3 separate regions of the Homo sapiens genome follow, and regions 2 and 3 are each linked to region 1. The links are contacts of gene promoters, found by promoter capture Hi-C in blood cells and fetal thymus (Javierre and others, 2016). All regions are on one chromosome and are shown on one strand. Each heading gives the region's core, a stretch centred on a gene start or on the middle of the fragment in contact. The rest is flanking DNA. Distances are from core to core; before and after follow the strand shown. Region 1 holds the start of IMP4 (IMP U3 small nucleolar ribonucleoprotein 4). Region 2 overlaps FAM168B (family with sequence similarity 168 member B). Region 3 has its middle 2.4 kb from the start of PLEKHB2.

Evidence for each region. Contacts are between HindIII fragments. The CHiCAGO score rates a contact against its expected background, and 5 or more counts as called.
Region 2: a contact is called between a fragment that was not itself captured here and the fragment with the promoter of IMP4 in region 1, in 1 of 17 cell types (non-activated CD4 T cells). The highest score is 5.1, in non-activated CD4 T cells.
Region 3: a fragment that was not itself captured here is called in contact with the fragment with the promoter of IMP4 in region 1 in 3 of 17 cell types (non-activated CD4 T cells, total CD8 T cells and activated CD4 T cells); the score reaches 8.5 in non-activated CD4 T cells.

The regions. Positions count from the first base shown.
Region 1 is chr2:130,340,438-130,345,030 of GRCh38, reverse strand. IMP4 (IMP U3 small nucleolar ribonucleoprotein 4) reads right to left here and starts at 2,134. Exons shown (of 9, transcript NM_033416.3): 1 at 2,096-2,134; 2 at 1,837-1,945; 3 at 319-402. The coding sequence starts at 2,098. VMA22 (vacuolar ATPase assembly factor VMA22) reads left to right here and starts at 2,867. Exons shown (of 5, transcript NM_032357.4): 1 at 2,867-3,016; 2 at 3,087-3,190; 3 at 3,282-3,364; 4 at 3,992-4,123. The coding sequence starts at 2,906. RefSeq lists enhancers at 2,102-2,271, 2,402-2,951. The HindIII fragment of the contact is 8,635 bases long and covers 1-3,201 here.
Region 2 is chr2:131,079,363-131,083,977 of GRCh38, reverse strand. It overlaps FAM168B (family with sequence similarity 168 member B), which reads left to right. Exons shown (of 7, transcript NM_001009993.4): 2 at 1,321-1,401. The coding sequence starts at 1,332. Among named protein-coding and RNA genes, the nearest start is that of FAM168B, 12 kb to the left of the region's middle. The HindIII fragment of the contact is 8,121 bases long and covers 1-4,615 here.
Region 3 is chr2:131,100,809-131,105,160 of GRCh38, reverse strand. No RefSeq gene overlaps it. Among named protein-coding and RNA genes, the nearest start is that of PLEKHB2, 2.4 kb to the left of the region's middle. RefSeq lists an enhancer at 1-101. The HindIII fragment of the contact is 424 bases long and covers 1,907-2,330 here.

The DNA of each region.
Region 1 (4,593 bases), core at 885-3,384:
TTGTTTCTTGAATAATGCAGTGAATAAACGTATGGGCACCAATAATGTGTGAGGGACACTGTCTTTCCCCAGCAGGCACTCCAGTGGGGGAGGTAATTAACAAGCCAGGTGCAGAGTCAGTGAGGCACTCCCATGTGTGCCATGTAAGTGGGACAGGGCACACTCAGGGAGAGCCCTGCAATGCCATCTGTGCAGTGACAAGGGCATGGGGGACAGTTCCAGGAGCAGTTTCCTCTGATGGGATGGTGCCCGGTGTGTCTGAGGAAGGACTGGAGACCTGCCAGCTCAGTGTTGGGGAGGGCTACCTTGTATAGTTACCTTCACCTCCAGCATCATCAAACTCCAGGGACCCCTGTAAGGCCAGAGCCTCTCGGCGTAACTCAGTGGGAATCAGGCGGTTTTCTGCAGAGGGAAGAGAGAGGGGCTGAGTGAGTCACAAGCATGGAGACCTCAGCTCATCCAATACACCACAGCTTATTAGCCTGCACATGCTTGAAATAAAAATACCTCAGCCCTTTCTGAGCTTGGATAAAGCATGGATAGAGGTGACAAAACTTTCTACAGGCCAACCCCCATAAACAGTGGTTACTAGGACTTCATTTTCTTTAGTCTCATGACTTGAGGACTTTCTAAAATATCTTAATGTACTGTATTGCTTTTATAATCAGGTAGAAATCTAAACATCGATTTTTTTTTTTTTTGAGACGGAGTCTCGCTCTGTCACCCAGGCAGAGCAGTGCAGTGGTGCCATCTCGGCTCACTGCAAGCTCCGCTTCCTGGGTTCACGCCATTCTCCTGCCTCAGGCTGGCGAGTAGCTGGGACTACAGGAGCCCGCCACGGCGCCCGGCTAATTTTTTATATTTTTAGTAGAGACGGGGTTTCACCGTGTTAGCCAGGATGGTCTCGATCTCCTGACCTCGTGATCCACCCGCTTCGGCCTCCCAAAGTGCTGGGATTACAGGCGTGAGCCACAGCGCTCGGCCTTAAAAATTACTTTTGAAAAGAAATATAGACTGTTCTGTACGTATGATGGTGGACCAGAGACCTTTAAGCTCTCAGACAGCAAAACCGTTGGTCACGATGCCCACAGCGCTTCGAAGGCATGGCTTCAGCGGGCCCTGGACCACAGGCTGCCTACCGCAGAGCACAGCGCTCCAGGTGCGCACTCGGGGCCAGCACTGTTCCCCACGGAGCTCAGAGGAACTCCTGCAGGGAGGATGGGCAGCGCAGTCTGCAGCACCAGCGCTATCCAGATAGTCTTTAGAGAGAATTTCTTTTTTTTTTTTTTTTTGAGACGGAGTCTTGCTTTTTTGCCCAGGCTGGAGTGCAGTGGCAGGATCTCGGCTCACTGCAACCTCCGCCTCCCGGGTTCAAGCGATTCTCCTGCCTCAGCCTCCTGAGTAGCTGGGATTACAGGCGCGTGCCACCACGGCCGGCTAATTTTTGTATGTTTAGTAGAGACGAGATTTCACCATGTTGGTCAGGCTCGAACTCCTGACCTCATGATCCGCCCGCCTCGGCCTCCCAAAGTGCTGGGATTACAGCAGTGAGCCACCGCTCTAAAGAGAATTTCTACAGGACAAGATAAAGTCTTTAAAACTTGGGACGAACTTGACACACTGCACACAGCGGGCAAGCTGCAAAACCCGGGTACTGCAACGTCAGTGACAAGTAATTAATACCATCACACGGAAGAAACACTCTCAAAACCAACAGGAGAACCCAATGGGCAAGGAAAACGGCCGGCAAGCATTTGGAAAGACGCTCGGATATTCGAACACAAATGCGTGCCGGGGTGGTTTACCACGCAGACGCCCGCGGGGCCGATGCCTTACCTTCCAGCGCGCGCCGCAGCCGCTCCTTCCTCTCCTGGGCTGAGCGCTGCGCCTCCTCCCGGGCCTTGCGGTACAGGTACTCGCGGCGCAGGCGGGCCTCGCGGCGCAGCTGTGGGAACAGCAGGCCCAGTCACTCACTACTCGCTCCCGAGCCCCGGAACCCCGGAGCCCCGGAGCCGCTGAGCCTCCAAGTCCCCAGAGCCACATCCCCAGCACTTCACGCGCCCCGGACCTCCGAAACAGGAGCTCATTCTCCTACCATCTTGAGTGCCGCTTCCACGTGGGTCCGGGAGAATCTGTGGGCTCCTCCAGCGCGACACAGTCCTCACTTCCGCCCTCAACCAAGATGGTCCCTTAGACGCTTCACTGGTGCCTGCAGCTGTGGGGAATGCCCTATGTTAAGATGGCGAATAGGGCGGGGACATCTCAAGGCGATTGGCCATTCCGGCAGGGCGTTCTCCTTGGGATAACCGATAGACTGGATACAGAATGTCACACGTGACTTAGGACCGCAGCTAATAAATATGTCCGCCCAGGCTTCTCCATCCTCGTCCTCCCCCCACCACCGCCGTGCAGAATGCAGTTTTCAGATGACGAACCGCTAAAACAATCATAATTAGCGGCTGGAAACAGTTCAACTGTAAAAACCGCACACCGACTGAAGGTTGCTTGCCGGCTCCTTTCCAAATTAACTTTAAAACCACTCTTCCCTCAACCAAAATGGTTTCTGTAGAGCTTCGCCTTCTTCCATCGCCACAACAGTGGCGCGACTTCTAAGATTCGGCAGCTTCCGGAAGGACTCAGAACCACCTATAACCCTAGCCGACAGTTCAGCAGGCTGATCCACTTGGGGGCTAATTGGAGAAACCAGTTGATTGGTTGCTTCCGTGCTGCTTCTCTAAGGGCGCTTGCCCTTAAAGAAGCTGACCCAGAGGCCTTGGTGCTGCCGGCGTGGGGATCCCCAGATGGGAACGCCCCTTGATGGAGGATCTCGTGTGCCTATTGGCTGTCCTGCCAAACTGCGGAGGGTGACAAGGAAGAAGGTGGCTCCAGATCTGGAGGTGTGTCCATGGCGGCGCTTGACCTGCGAGCGGAGCTGGATTCGCTGGTCCTGCAGCTGCTTGGGGACCTGGAGGAGCTGGAGGGGAAACGAACGGTGTTGAACGCCCGGGTGGAGGAGGTAGGCGCCTGGGGCGGGCAGGAGGGTACACGGGCGTAAACTGAGTCTCACCGCTTTCCTCTCCCTGCAGGGCTGGCTCTCGCTCGCCAAGGCTCGCTACGCGATGGGCGCCAAGTCGGTAGGGCCCCTGCAGTATGCTTCCCACATGGAGCCCCAGGTCTGCCTCCACGCCAGGTGAGGAAGCTTCCATGCTGGGCTGGGTGGGCGGGCGGGCGCGTTCTAGGCCCGGGCTGCCAAAGCTCCATCCTCCCTTCTCGTCCTTCAGCGAGGCCCAGGAGGGACTCCAGAAGTTCAAGGTGGTGAGAGCTGGTGTCCACGCCCCAGAGGAGGTGGGGCCTCGCGAAGCAGGTGAGCCCCCTCTTCCTTCTGCAGAACCCCTTCCCAGTGTCAAAGACAAAATGCAAATTATGGAGATGATTTAAATTAGGTTTTTGCGATAAGAGAGAGCATCCCAGAGCAGAAGAACAGAATGTTTTTGTAGGGTGGTTTTGCCTTAGACTTTTATAGGAAGTAGAGAAATTGTTGGTGAGTTGCTTTACACTGGGAATAGATTTACAATCACATACATTTCAGTCAGCTGAACAGAAAATATTTATCTGTGTGTCTAGCTAGTTTCAGAGGGACAAACTTCTAATCCCAGTTAATCATCCTGAGACAAAGAATGGGGAGTTGGAACGTCTATGTCTGGTCTGTTGGCATGTTCAGGTACAATGGGTAAGATCAGTGTCACAGGCAAACAGGGTCATCAGTGGGTCTTACAGGAGTCACGGGAAAGAGTGGACAAACAGTCTCATCTGAATCACAAGGGGAAAGGCTGTGTTTTGTGGTAAGCTGTTTCCTGGAACCCCAAAGTTGGAATTTTCCAACCAACAGTGTTTTATAGAATCATGAGCTCAGATCAAGCTCAACATTGTCACCAAGATGATAAAGGTCAGGGAGTAAGATCCCAGCCTCCTCCAACCTTTCTTTCCTCAGGTCTGCGGAGGCGCAAGGGCCCCACTAAGACCCCAGAACCGGAGTCCTCTGAGGCCCCTCAGGACCCCCTGAACTGGTTTGGAATCCTAGTTCCTCACAGTCTACGTCAGGCTCAAGCAAGCTTCCGGGATGGTGAGTGGACCGTGTTGTTTGGCTCTGTGGCCCTCAGACCCTCTATCCACAGGGAACACTTGAGCACTGCTGCCATGGCTGGGGTTAGTCTGTGAAAGGCTTTGCAGGTTTTCCTCCATCCAAACTTCCGTTGTACACCCATTATTTTTTCCAAAAGCATTTACTGGTTGTTGGCAGCATTCGGGTTCATGCTAGCTGCTGGGGATACAGCAGGGAACAAAAGAGACAAACACTTTTCATGTAATGTTTAGAAGCAGACAAAGGCAACGTGCAAATAAGTAGGCCCTTAACATAAGTCAGGCTGTGAAAATTGTTATGAAAAACACATAATGGAGTGGGACAGGAGTGGGCCAGGGGAGGTCTCTCTGAGGAGGTGAAGGAAAAGCTTTGTGGGTGATTTTGGGGAACAGTGCTCTAGATGGAGGAACCAGCCAGGACAAAAGCCCTGAAGCCAGATATATCTGGTATGT
Region 2 (4,615 bases), core at 1,973-4,472, 740 kb before region 1:
GAGCTGAGATCATGCCACTGCACTCCAGCCTAGCGACAGAGCGAGACTCCGTCTGGGAAAATAAATAAATAAATAAATAAATAAATAAATAAATAAATAAATACAGGAAATTGCAAAAGGACCACTAAATCCACTCCCATCTAGAGTCAATCACTGTTCATATTTTTATATATTTCTTTTCAGACTTTTTTTCTGTTTGTGCCAGGGATGCACATTTTTATACACATAGGTGTTTATATGGGATCATACTGTGTAATGCAGGATGCAGTATAATACTCTACTTTGTTTTCACTTAACATTGTATTATTCTGTTTTTAAACATTTCTTGAAAAGCAGCTGCGTGATATTTCATGTTCTGGATATGTCTTGGTTAACTTAACTATCCTCTGTTAGAAGAACATTTTGGTTACTTGTAGGGTTTTCCCCATGTTTTTTTTGCGACAAAGTCTCGCTCTGTTGTCCAGGTTGGAGTGCAATGGCATGAGCTTGGCTCACTGCTAATCTCCACCTCCTGGATTCAAGTGATTCTTGTGCCTCAGCCTCCCAAGTAGCTGGGATTACAGGTGTGCGTCACCACACTTGGCTAATTTTTGTTTGTTTTTGTTTTGTTTTGTTTTGTTTTTTTGAGACGGAGTCTCGCTCTGTCGCCAGGCTGGAGTGCAGTGGTGCAATATTGGCTCACTGCAACCTCCGACTACCTGGTTCAAGCGATTCTCCTGCCTTAGCGTTCTGAGTAGCTGGGATTACAGGCACGCGCCACCACACCCAGCTAATTTTTGTATTTTTAGTAGAGACGGAGTTTGACCATGTTGGCCAGGATGGTCTTGGTCTCCTGACCTCATGATTCCTCCACCTCAGCCTCCCGAAGTGCTAAGATTACAGGCACGAGCCACCATGCCTGGCCAATTTTTGTATTTTTAGTAGAGATGGGGTTTCACCATGTTGGCCAGGCTGGTCTCAAACTCCTGACCTCAGGTGATCTGCCCACCTCGGCCTCCCAAAGTGCTGGGATTACAGGAGTGCACCACCGTACCTGGCCTTTCCCCTTGCTTTTAGTGGACATATAGCTAACAATTTTTACTCCTTAGCTTCTGATGGACTGAGGAGAATTGTGAAAAAAAGTTTATCATGCCCTGGTTTGGCACCCATTAGGACATCGAGTGTCCCTTTTCTGTTCTTCGCTGGTTGGGGGCAGCATGAAATGCATTGTTTTATAGCAGCCTAGAGAAAGGACTCTAGCTACCTGCTTTTTGGGGACTGGTACTGGAGAAAAATCTGAGAGCAAAAGTGCTTGGCTAAATTCCCTTTTTTTTCTTTTAGTTTTTGAAATCATGAATCCTGTTTATAGTCCTGGATCTTCTGGGGTTCCCTATGCAAATGCCAAAGGAATTGGTTATCCAGGTAAGTAAGTAAAATTTTGTTTTCATTTTTGAACTTTGAATACTTGGTATATTTTCATGTCACTAAGAATGCTTTCTATTGACAAACGCAGCTCAAAGTGGCTTAGACAAGAAAGAAAATACCTGGAAGTGAAAAATCAAATGATAGGACTGGATTTGGTCAAAACTTGATCTAGTGGCTCCAGCAGTTGGGACCAGGATCTAGTTTCTCTACCTCCTGGTCTCAGCTTCGCTTCCTCAGTATTAACTTAGTGTTGGTCACAGGTCCCACTCCTTCTCATTGTGGTCTCTGAAGTTCAGGCCCCTCCCAGTAGTCCCTCACTAAGAGCCTCTTTACCTCCACTCTACAGGAAAGCCTGATGGGACTGCTTGTTCTCTATTCAAACCAGTCCTGGGCTTTGTTCTGATTAAACTCAGCATCCATCCCTGGGCCACAAAGGGGAGTCTGCTGATTGACTTAGGCCTGATCCACATCCCTTTAGTGGAGTCAGCTAGTCAAATATGGACTGCAAGTGAGGGTTGCAGCGAAATGGATATTGAGGGGATAGGAGCTGGTTGGTCAAAAATAGCAAATGGTTGTTCCCTTCGGTGACTTTGCACAAGGAGTAGTTATTTATAATGATACAGTTTCATTTTGGGTTTTGATAATATGGTAGAAGAGATAACCCCAAAACTTTGTTGCTAAGACTCTCAGAAAGTGAAATAAAACATTTTACAAATGTATAACTGAACTTGCAGGAGGTAAGAGAGATATCTGGGGTCAAATGTGAAGGCCATGTTAAACCCAGCTAACTTGGCCTTTGAACTAATGTCGTGCCTGTCCTGGGCACATGTGCTATTTGTGGGTTTTAACAACCCACATGGGGATAGAGATTGAGTATTAGGACCCTTGCGACAGGGAATGAGAGTGAGACTTCTTATCAGTCATTCTCGTCCCTCTGGAGGGTGATACTCTCAGCAAAGAGATAGACTAAACAGTCTAGTCGTCCAGTGGCCCCATAAGGAAGTTTATATGCTTGGGCTCTGAGAAGCGGGAGATCTTTACTAAGACTTTGTAAGCATTCAGAGATGTTTGGGGCTCTAGCTTGTATTATACTCCCCAGGGGTTCAGAAGTTGAGAAATTAACGTAAAAATAGTCTCCAGGCTTGGTTACTCCTGGGGCTCCTGACAGCAGCGAATGCAGAACTGCTGTGGGGGCATATGTTCACAACCCAGGTTGCGTGGGCTTCCTGCAGGCAAAGTTCTGCCTGCTAGCATGGGATGCCTCCCATCAAGTAAGAGGCACCAGCCATGACAGACTGCAGGAGAAGAACCATCAGGTAGATGCTATGTCACATAGCCAAGTTTAGAAGAATTGCAGATATAAAAGAAAGAATCAGAAACATAAGAGGGGAACAAGATGCTGAGAAAAAAGAACTAGCTGGAACTTTAAGAAATGAAACAAAATGGCATATGAACAAATTTCAGGTTAATATCAAGACAAGACACTGGTTAAGAGAGAACCAGAATGCAACATAAGGAAAGGGAGGAAAACAGAACAGTAAAGAAACATCTGGAGCTCTTCTCCAGAAGGGCTGAGTAGAGAAACTGTAAGAAAAGGAGTGACAGGCTGGGTGTAGTGGCTCATGCCTGTAATCCCAGCACTTTGGGAGGCCGAGGCAGGCAGATCATGAGTTCAGGAGATCGAGACCATCCTGGCTAACACTGAAACCCCGTCTCTACTAAAAATACAAAAAAAAATTAGCCAGGCATGGTGGCGGGCGCCTGTATCTCCAGCTACTTAGGATGCTGAGGCAGGAGAATGGCGTGAACCCGGGAGGTGGAGCTTGCAGTGAGCTGAGATCGTGCCACTGCACTCCAGCCTGGGCGACAGAGCAAGACTCTGTCTCAAAAAAAAAATTCTTTTACTATTCTTTTAGTGCTTATTATAAAGATTATACCTCTTTTATTTTTATTTTTTTGAGACCGTCTTGCCCTGTTGCCCAGGCTGGAGTGCAGTGGCACGATCTCAGCTCACTACAACCTCCATCTCCCGGGTTCAAGCGATTCTCCAGCCTCAGCCTCCCGAGTAACTGGGATTACAGATGCATGCCACCATGCCCAGCTAATTTTTTGTTCACTGTGTGAGCCAGGCTGGTCTCGAACTGCAGACCTCAAGTGATCCGCTCTCCTGAGCCTCCCAAAGTGCTGTGATTATAAGCGTGAGCCCCTCTTTTTCTGTTGTTGCCTTACCTTAAGATATTACTTGTGTCACAGTACTCCAGCCTGGTGACAGAGCGAGACTCTGTCTCAAAAAAAAAAAAAGACGTTACTGTTTTAATTTTGTGCAATCAACAGCCATTTATATTTATTCACACATTTACTGTTTTTGGTGCTCTTCATTGCTTTCTCTATTTACATGTTTCTCTCTGGAGTCATTGACCTTTATCTGAACAACTCTCAACATTTTTTTTTTTTCTGAGACAGAGTTTCACTCTTGTTGCCCAGGCTGGAGTGCAATGGCGTGATCTTGGCTCACTGCAACCTCTGCCTCCCGCGTTCAGGTGATTCTCCTGCCTCAGCCTCCTGAGTTGCTGGGATTACAGGCGCCTGCCACCATGCCCAGCTAATGTTTGTATTTTTAGTAGAGATGGGTTTTTGCCATATTGGCCAGGCTGATCAAGAACTCCTGACCTCAGGTGATCCTCCCACCTCGGCCTCCCAAAGTGTTGGGATTACAAGCGTGAGCCACTGCTCCGAGCCACATTTTTTTTTTTAAACCACAAGTCTGTTAGTGAATTTTGTTTTGTGAAATTGTCTTTATTTTGCTTTTCTTTTGAGGCATTCTTTTGCCGGGTGTGTTTGTTTTTTTTGTGGCTGCTATAACAGGTAACCACAAACTTGGTGGGTTAAAGCCATAGAGATGTAGTCCCAGAGGTTCGAAATCAAGGCGTTGGCAGGTCTGTACTCCTAGTGCAGGCCCAGAGGAAAATCCATTCCTTGCATCTTCTAGTTTCTGGTGGCTGTCTGCAGTCTTTAGCATGTGGCTTTGTGGCTGCATCACTCCCATTTCTGCCTCCATGGTCACATCCTCTCCTGTGTGTCTTTTGTGTGTTTGTTTTGAGACGAAGTCTCACTCTTGTCACCCAGGCTGGAGTGCAGTGGCGTGATCTTGGCTCTCTGCAACATCTGCCTCCCAAGTTCAAGTGATTCTCCTGCCTCAGCCTCCTGAGCA
Region 3 (4,352 bases), core at 869-3,368, 760 kb before region 1:
AAAGTGAGATCCTGTCTTAAAAATATAAAAATTTAAAAAAAAATTGTTAGCACCCTAATCTTGGTTTCTAAATACCGCTCTCTAAAAATAGGGCCAAGGCGCCTTAGAGAAATGGGCGACTCTAGGACCCGGGCGCAGAAAGCTCCAGCTGAGCCGGGAGCGTTTTGTAGGCCAGAAGCTTGAGGTGCTCAAAAAACTGAAGGACCGGGCGTCCAAGGGCGCAGGGATCTACCCAGAGAGCTTCCGGGGGCCGCGCCTGGGACAATTTGAGCAGCAATATAAAGTACATTGCATTAAGTTATAACCTAAAGTATAAAACAGCCCAGAGCCCGTGCTGCTATAAATACGTGATTAAATAAATGAGGGAGAAGGGATAATCTTCCTTGCAGAGGAATTCTAATAATACCTCATCCAGAGGGGTGTGGTAATCCGTCCACACCCACCCTGAGTGTGGCCTATGCCTGGGGACGACCTTTCCAAGAGTACAGTGTGGAAAGAGGGCTGTAGAGCCACTCCACGTGAAAATCAAAGTGATTAGTCACTGCACTTGCCCTTGACATGTGATTAAAAAAAAAACCGTGACCTCAGTCTAACTGAAAGATAAACATCAGACAAATCTCGTTTGTGGGATATTCCTCAAAACACCTCACCAGTACTCCTCAAACTATCAAGGTAATCAAAAGCAAGAAAAAAACTGAGACACTGTCATATGCAACATGGTGATGTAGCTAGGCTATAAACTTAAAATAAAATTTAAGTTTAGGTAATAGTAGTTTTTAGTTATAAGAAATGTATAATGGTTATGTAAGATGTTAACATTAGGAGAAATTGTGTGAAGGGTATACTAGCTTTATAACTTTTTTGTAGTCTAAAATTATTCCAGATGAAAAGTTGGGGGTTTTCTGAAGACAATAGAGGGAAAATAAATGTTAGCCAGGTGAGATGGTTCATGCCAGTAATCCCAGAGCTTTGCGAGCCAGAGGCAGGAGGATTGCTTGAGCCCAGAAGTTTGACCTGCAATCAAGCCACTGCGTTCCAGCCTAGCAGGGGTTGGGGGGTGGTGTAGGGGTACTGCCTGGAAAGAGGCTTGAGAGAGCCTCCTGGCAACCCCACTCCTAGGGTGCTGAAAATGTTCTATACATTGATCTGAGTGGTGGGTACGTGTGTGTAAGTAAAACTTTATCAAGCTGAACACTATACTTAACATTTGTACATTTTTGGCCGGGCACAGTGGCTCACGCCTGTAATCCCAGCACTTTGGGAGGCCGAGGCAGGCAGATCACGAGGTCAGGAGTTTGAGACCAGCCTGACCAACGTGGTGAAACACCGTCCATACTAAAAATACAAAAAAAAATTAGTCAGGCCTGGTGGTGCGCTTGTAATCCCAGATACTCAGAGACTAAAAATACAAAAATTAGCCAGGCGTGGTGGCGGGCGCCGGTAGTCCCAGCTACTTGGGAGGCTGAGGCAGGAAAATGGTGTGAACCCGGGAGGCAGACGTTGCACTGAGCCGAGATCACGCCACTGCACTCCAGCCTAGGCGACAGAGAGACTCCATCTAAAAAAAAAAAAAAAAAAAAAAAAGATTTGTACATTTTTCTGTGTATAAATTATATCTAAATTTAAAAGGGAAAAACTCTTAAAAAAAATATTGGAAGAGCCCTATTATTATTGGTCTTCAAAACCCCAAACTCTGCCAATCAGGGCCCCTGTCTTAACCCAGCTCCTCTCTGGGGAAAATTTAAAAAATGCAGGGTAGGGAGTCCTATGATGCCTGCAATCCCATCTTTTGCAAGATATTATAGCTTAGTCAACACAAGAGTTCAGAGATTTGTGTGACATGGGGTTCTTCCTGGTTCCGCTGCTTCTGGATGAGCTCGGGTAAATTGCCTGACATCAACAAGCTTCTTGACCAGCCCTCATTAAGGCTATACTAGCCCTGACCACCTTCAGGGTCAGTCTTAGGGACCTTTCAGGGTCTGAGTTTGGAGTATCCAAAAATACACTAACACATTCTCTCTGAGTGATGGGACTGTGGATGACATTTCTTTTTTCTACTTTTCTGCATTTTCCAAGTTTTCTTTCATGAATATGTATCACTTCAACAACAGGAAAAAGTAATATTTAAGGCTGGGTGTGATGGCTCACGTCTATAATCCCAGCACTTTGGGAGGCCAAGACAGGAGAATTACTTGAGCCCAGGAGTTCAAGACCAGCTTGGGCAACACAGTGGGACACTTTCTCTACAAAAAAATAAAAATAAAAAAATTAGACTGGCATGGTGGCATGCATCTGTAGTCCCAGCTACTTGAGAGGCTGAGAGGGAAGCTTCACTAGAATCCGGGAGGTCAAGGGTGCAGTGAGCCATGATTGTGTCACTGCACTCCAGGTTGAGCAAAAGAATGAGACCCTGCCTCAAAATAATAATAATTTTTTTTTTGAGATGGAGTCTCACTGTCACCCAGGCTGGTGGACAGTGGCACCATCTAGGCTCACTGCAACCTCCGCCTCCTGGGTTCAAGCAATTATTCTGCCTCAGCCTCCTGAGTAGCTGGGAATACAGGTGTGCGCCCCCACACCCAGCTATTTATTTTGTATTTTTAGTAGAGACAGGGTTTCATCATGTTGGCCAGGCTGGTCTCAAACTCCCGACCTCGTGATCCACCTGCCTCGGCCTCCCAAAATGCTGGGATTACAGGCGTAAGCCACTGCACCCAGACAAAAAAAAAGTAATATTTTAATAAAGTTCAGTTTAAGTAGGCGTTCCAGTACCTGGAGGAGGGAGTGTCCCATAACAAGTTTTCTGATTCAGTAAAACTGGCTTTCTGGGCTGGGCGTGGTGGCTCACGCCTGTAATCCTAGCACTTTGGGAGGTCGAGGCATGCAGATCGCTCGAGGTCCAGAGTTCGAGACCAGCCTGGCCAACGTGGTGAAACCCCATCTCTACTAAAAATACAAAATAATTAGCCAGGCGTGGTGGCGGGCACCTGTAATCCCAGCTACTTGGGAGGCTGAGGCAGGAGAATAGCTTGAACCCAGGAGGCGGAGGTTGCAGTGAGCTGAGATTGTGCCACTGCACTCCAGCCTGGGCGACTGAGTGAAACTCCAACTCAGAAAAAAAAAAAAAAAAAAGAAAGAAAAGAAAAACTGGCTTCCTGTTCATGTTTATTGAGAAGAGGCCAGGGGAAAGAAGGCTGGGTGCAGGTGAGGACGCCTGCTTTCCAGCCCCCTATCTGAATGTGCAGCCTCTTGTCTGAAACTGAGAGGGAGAAGTCCAAGAGTTCAAAGAGTTGCATTGGGACTCTGTACCCATCAGTCACCTGTCTCTGTGGCCCTCAACTGGCTCAAACCAAATTACCTGCTGCTAAGCCCCACTCCATTTCTTGCCCAGTTACTAGTATGCGTTTCTTTATTGAAGAAAATAAAGTGAGAAGTTCTGGTGGTTAAAAAAGAAATTCCAGGCCAGGCACATTAGCTCACACCTGAAATCCCAACATTTGGAAGGCCGAGGCAGGAGGATCACTTGAGGCCAAAAGTTCAAGACCAACCTGGACAACATAGTAAAACAAAATATACAAAAACATAAGTAAATTTAAAAAAAAAACTCCAAATAGAACATGAAGTAAAATACCATGTCTCCCCTGCTACACCCCACATAATTGGGAATGTGGAGCTTCCAAGGAATAGGAGATAACAGGCACTCTTCCTTTACTTTTTCTTTCTTTGTGTTTTTTTTTTTTTTTTTTGAGACGGAGTCTCGCTCTGTCGCCCAGGCTGGAGGGCAGTGGCGGGATCTCGGCTCACTGCAAGCCCCACCTCCCAGGATCACGCCATTCTCCTGCCTCAGCCTCCCAAGTAGCTGGGACTACAGGCACCCGCCACCACGCCCGGCTAATTTTTTGTATTTTTAGTAGAGACGGAGTTTCACCATGTTAGCCAGGATGGTCTCCATCTCCTGACCTCGTGATCCGCCCGCCTCAGCCTCCCAAATTGCTGTGATTACAGGCGTGAGCCACAGCGCCCGGCCGAAATTTTTTATATGTATAAAAGTAGCCAGGGTGGAACAGTAGGATTTCAGCTGCCCCACAATGTTTACCAACACCCAGGTCCATCCCAAACAGACACACAGCACTAGGGAGAAGAGCAGGGGCAAGCAATGCAGAGTGCAGCGCAGGAAGCCGTTCCAGCATGCTGGCTGCACCTTTGCTTCTCCTATACGGAAACTTTGTAACTGCTTTTTGGGGTGGGAAACAATGAGTTTTTGCATGCCTAAATTTTACTTCATTTTGCCCTCAACATCTACTAAGAAGCCATGGCTTTCTTCAGACAGTGGAATCCATTTCTTTCTTTCT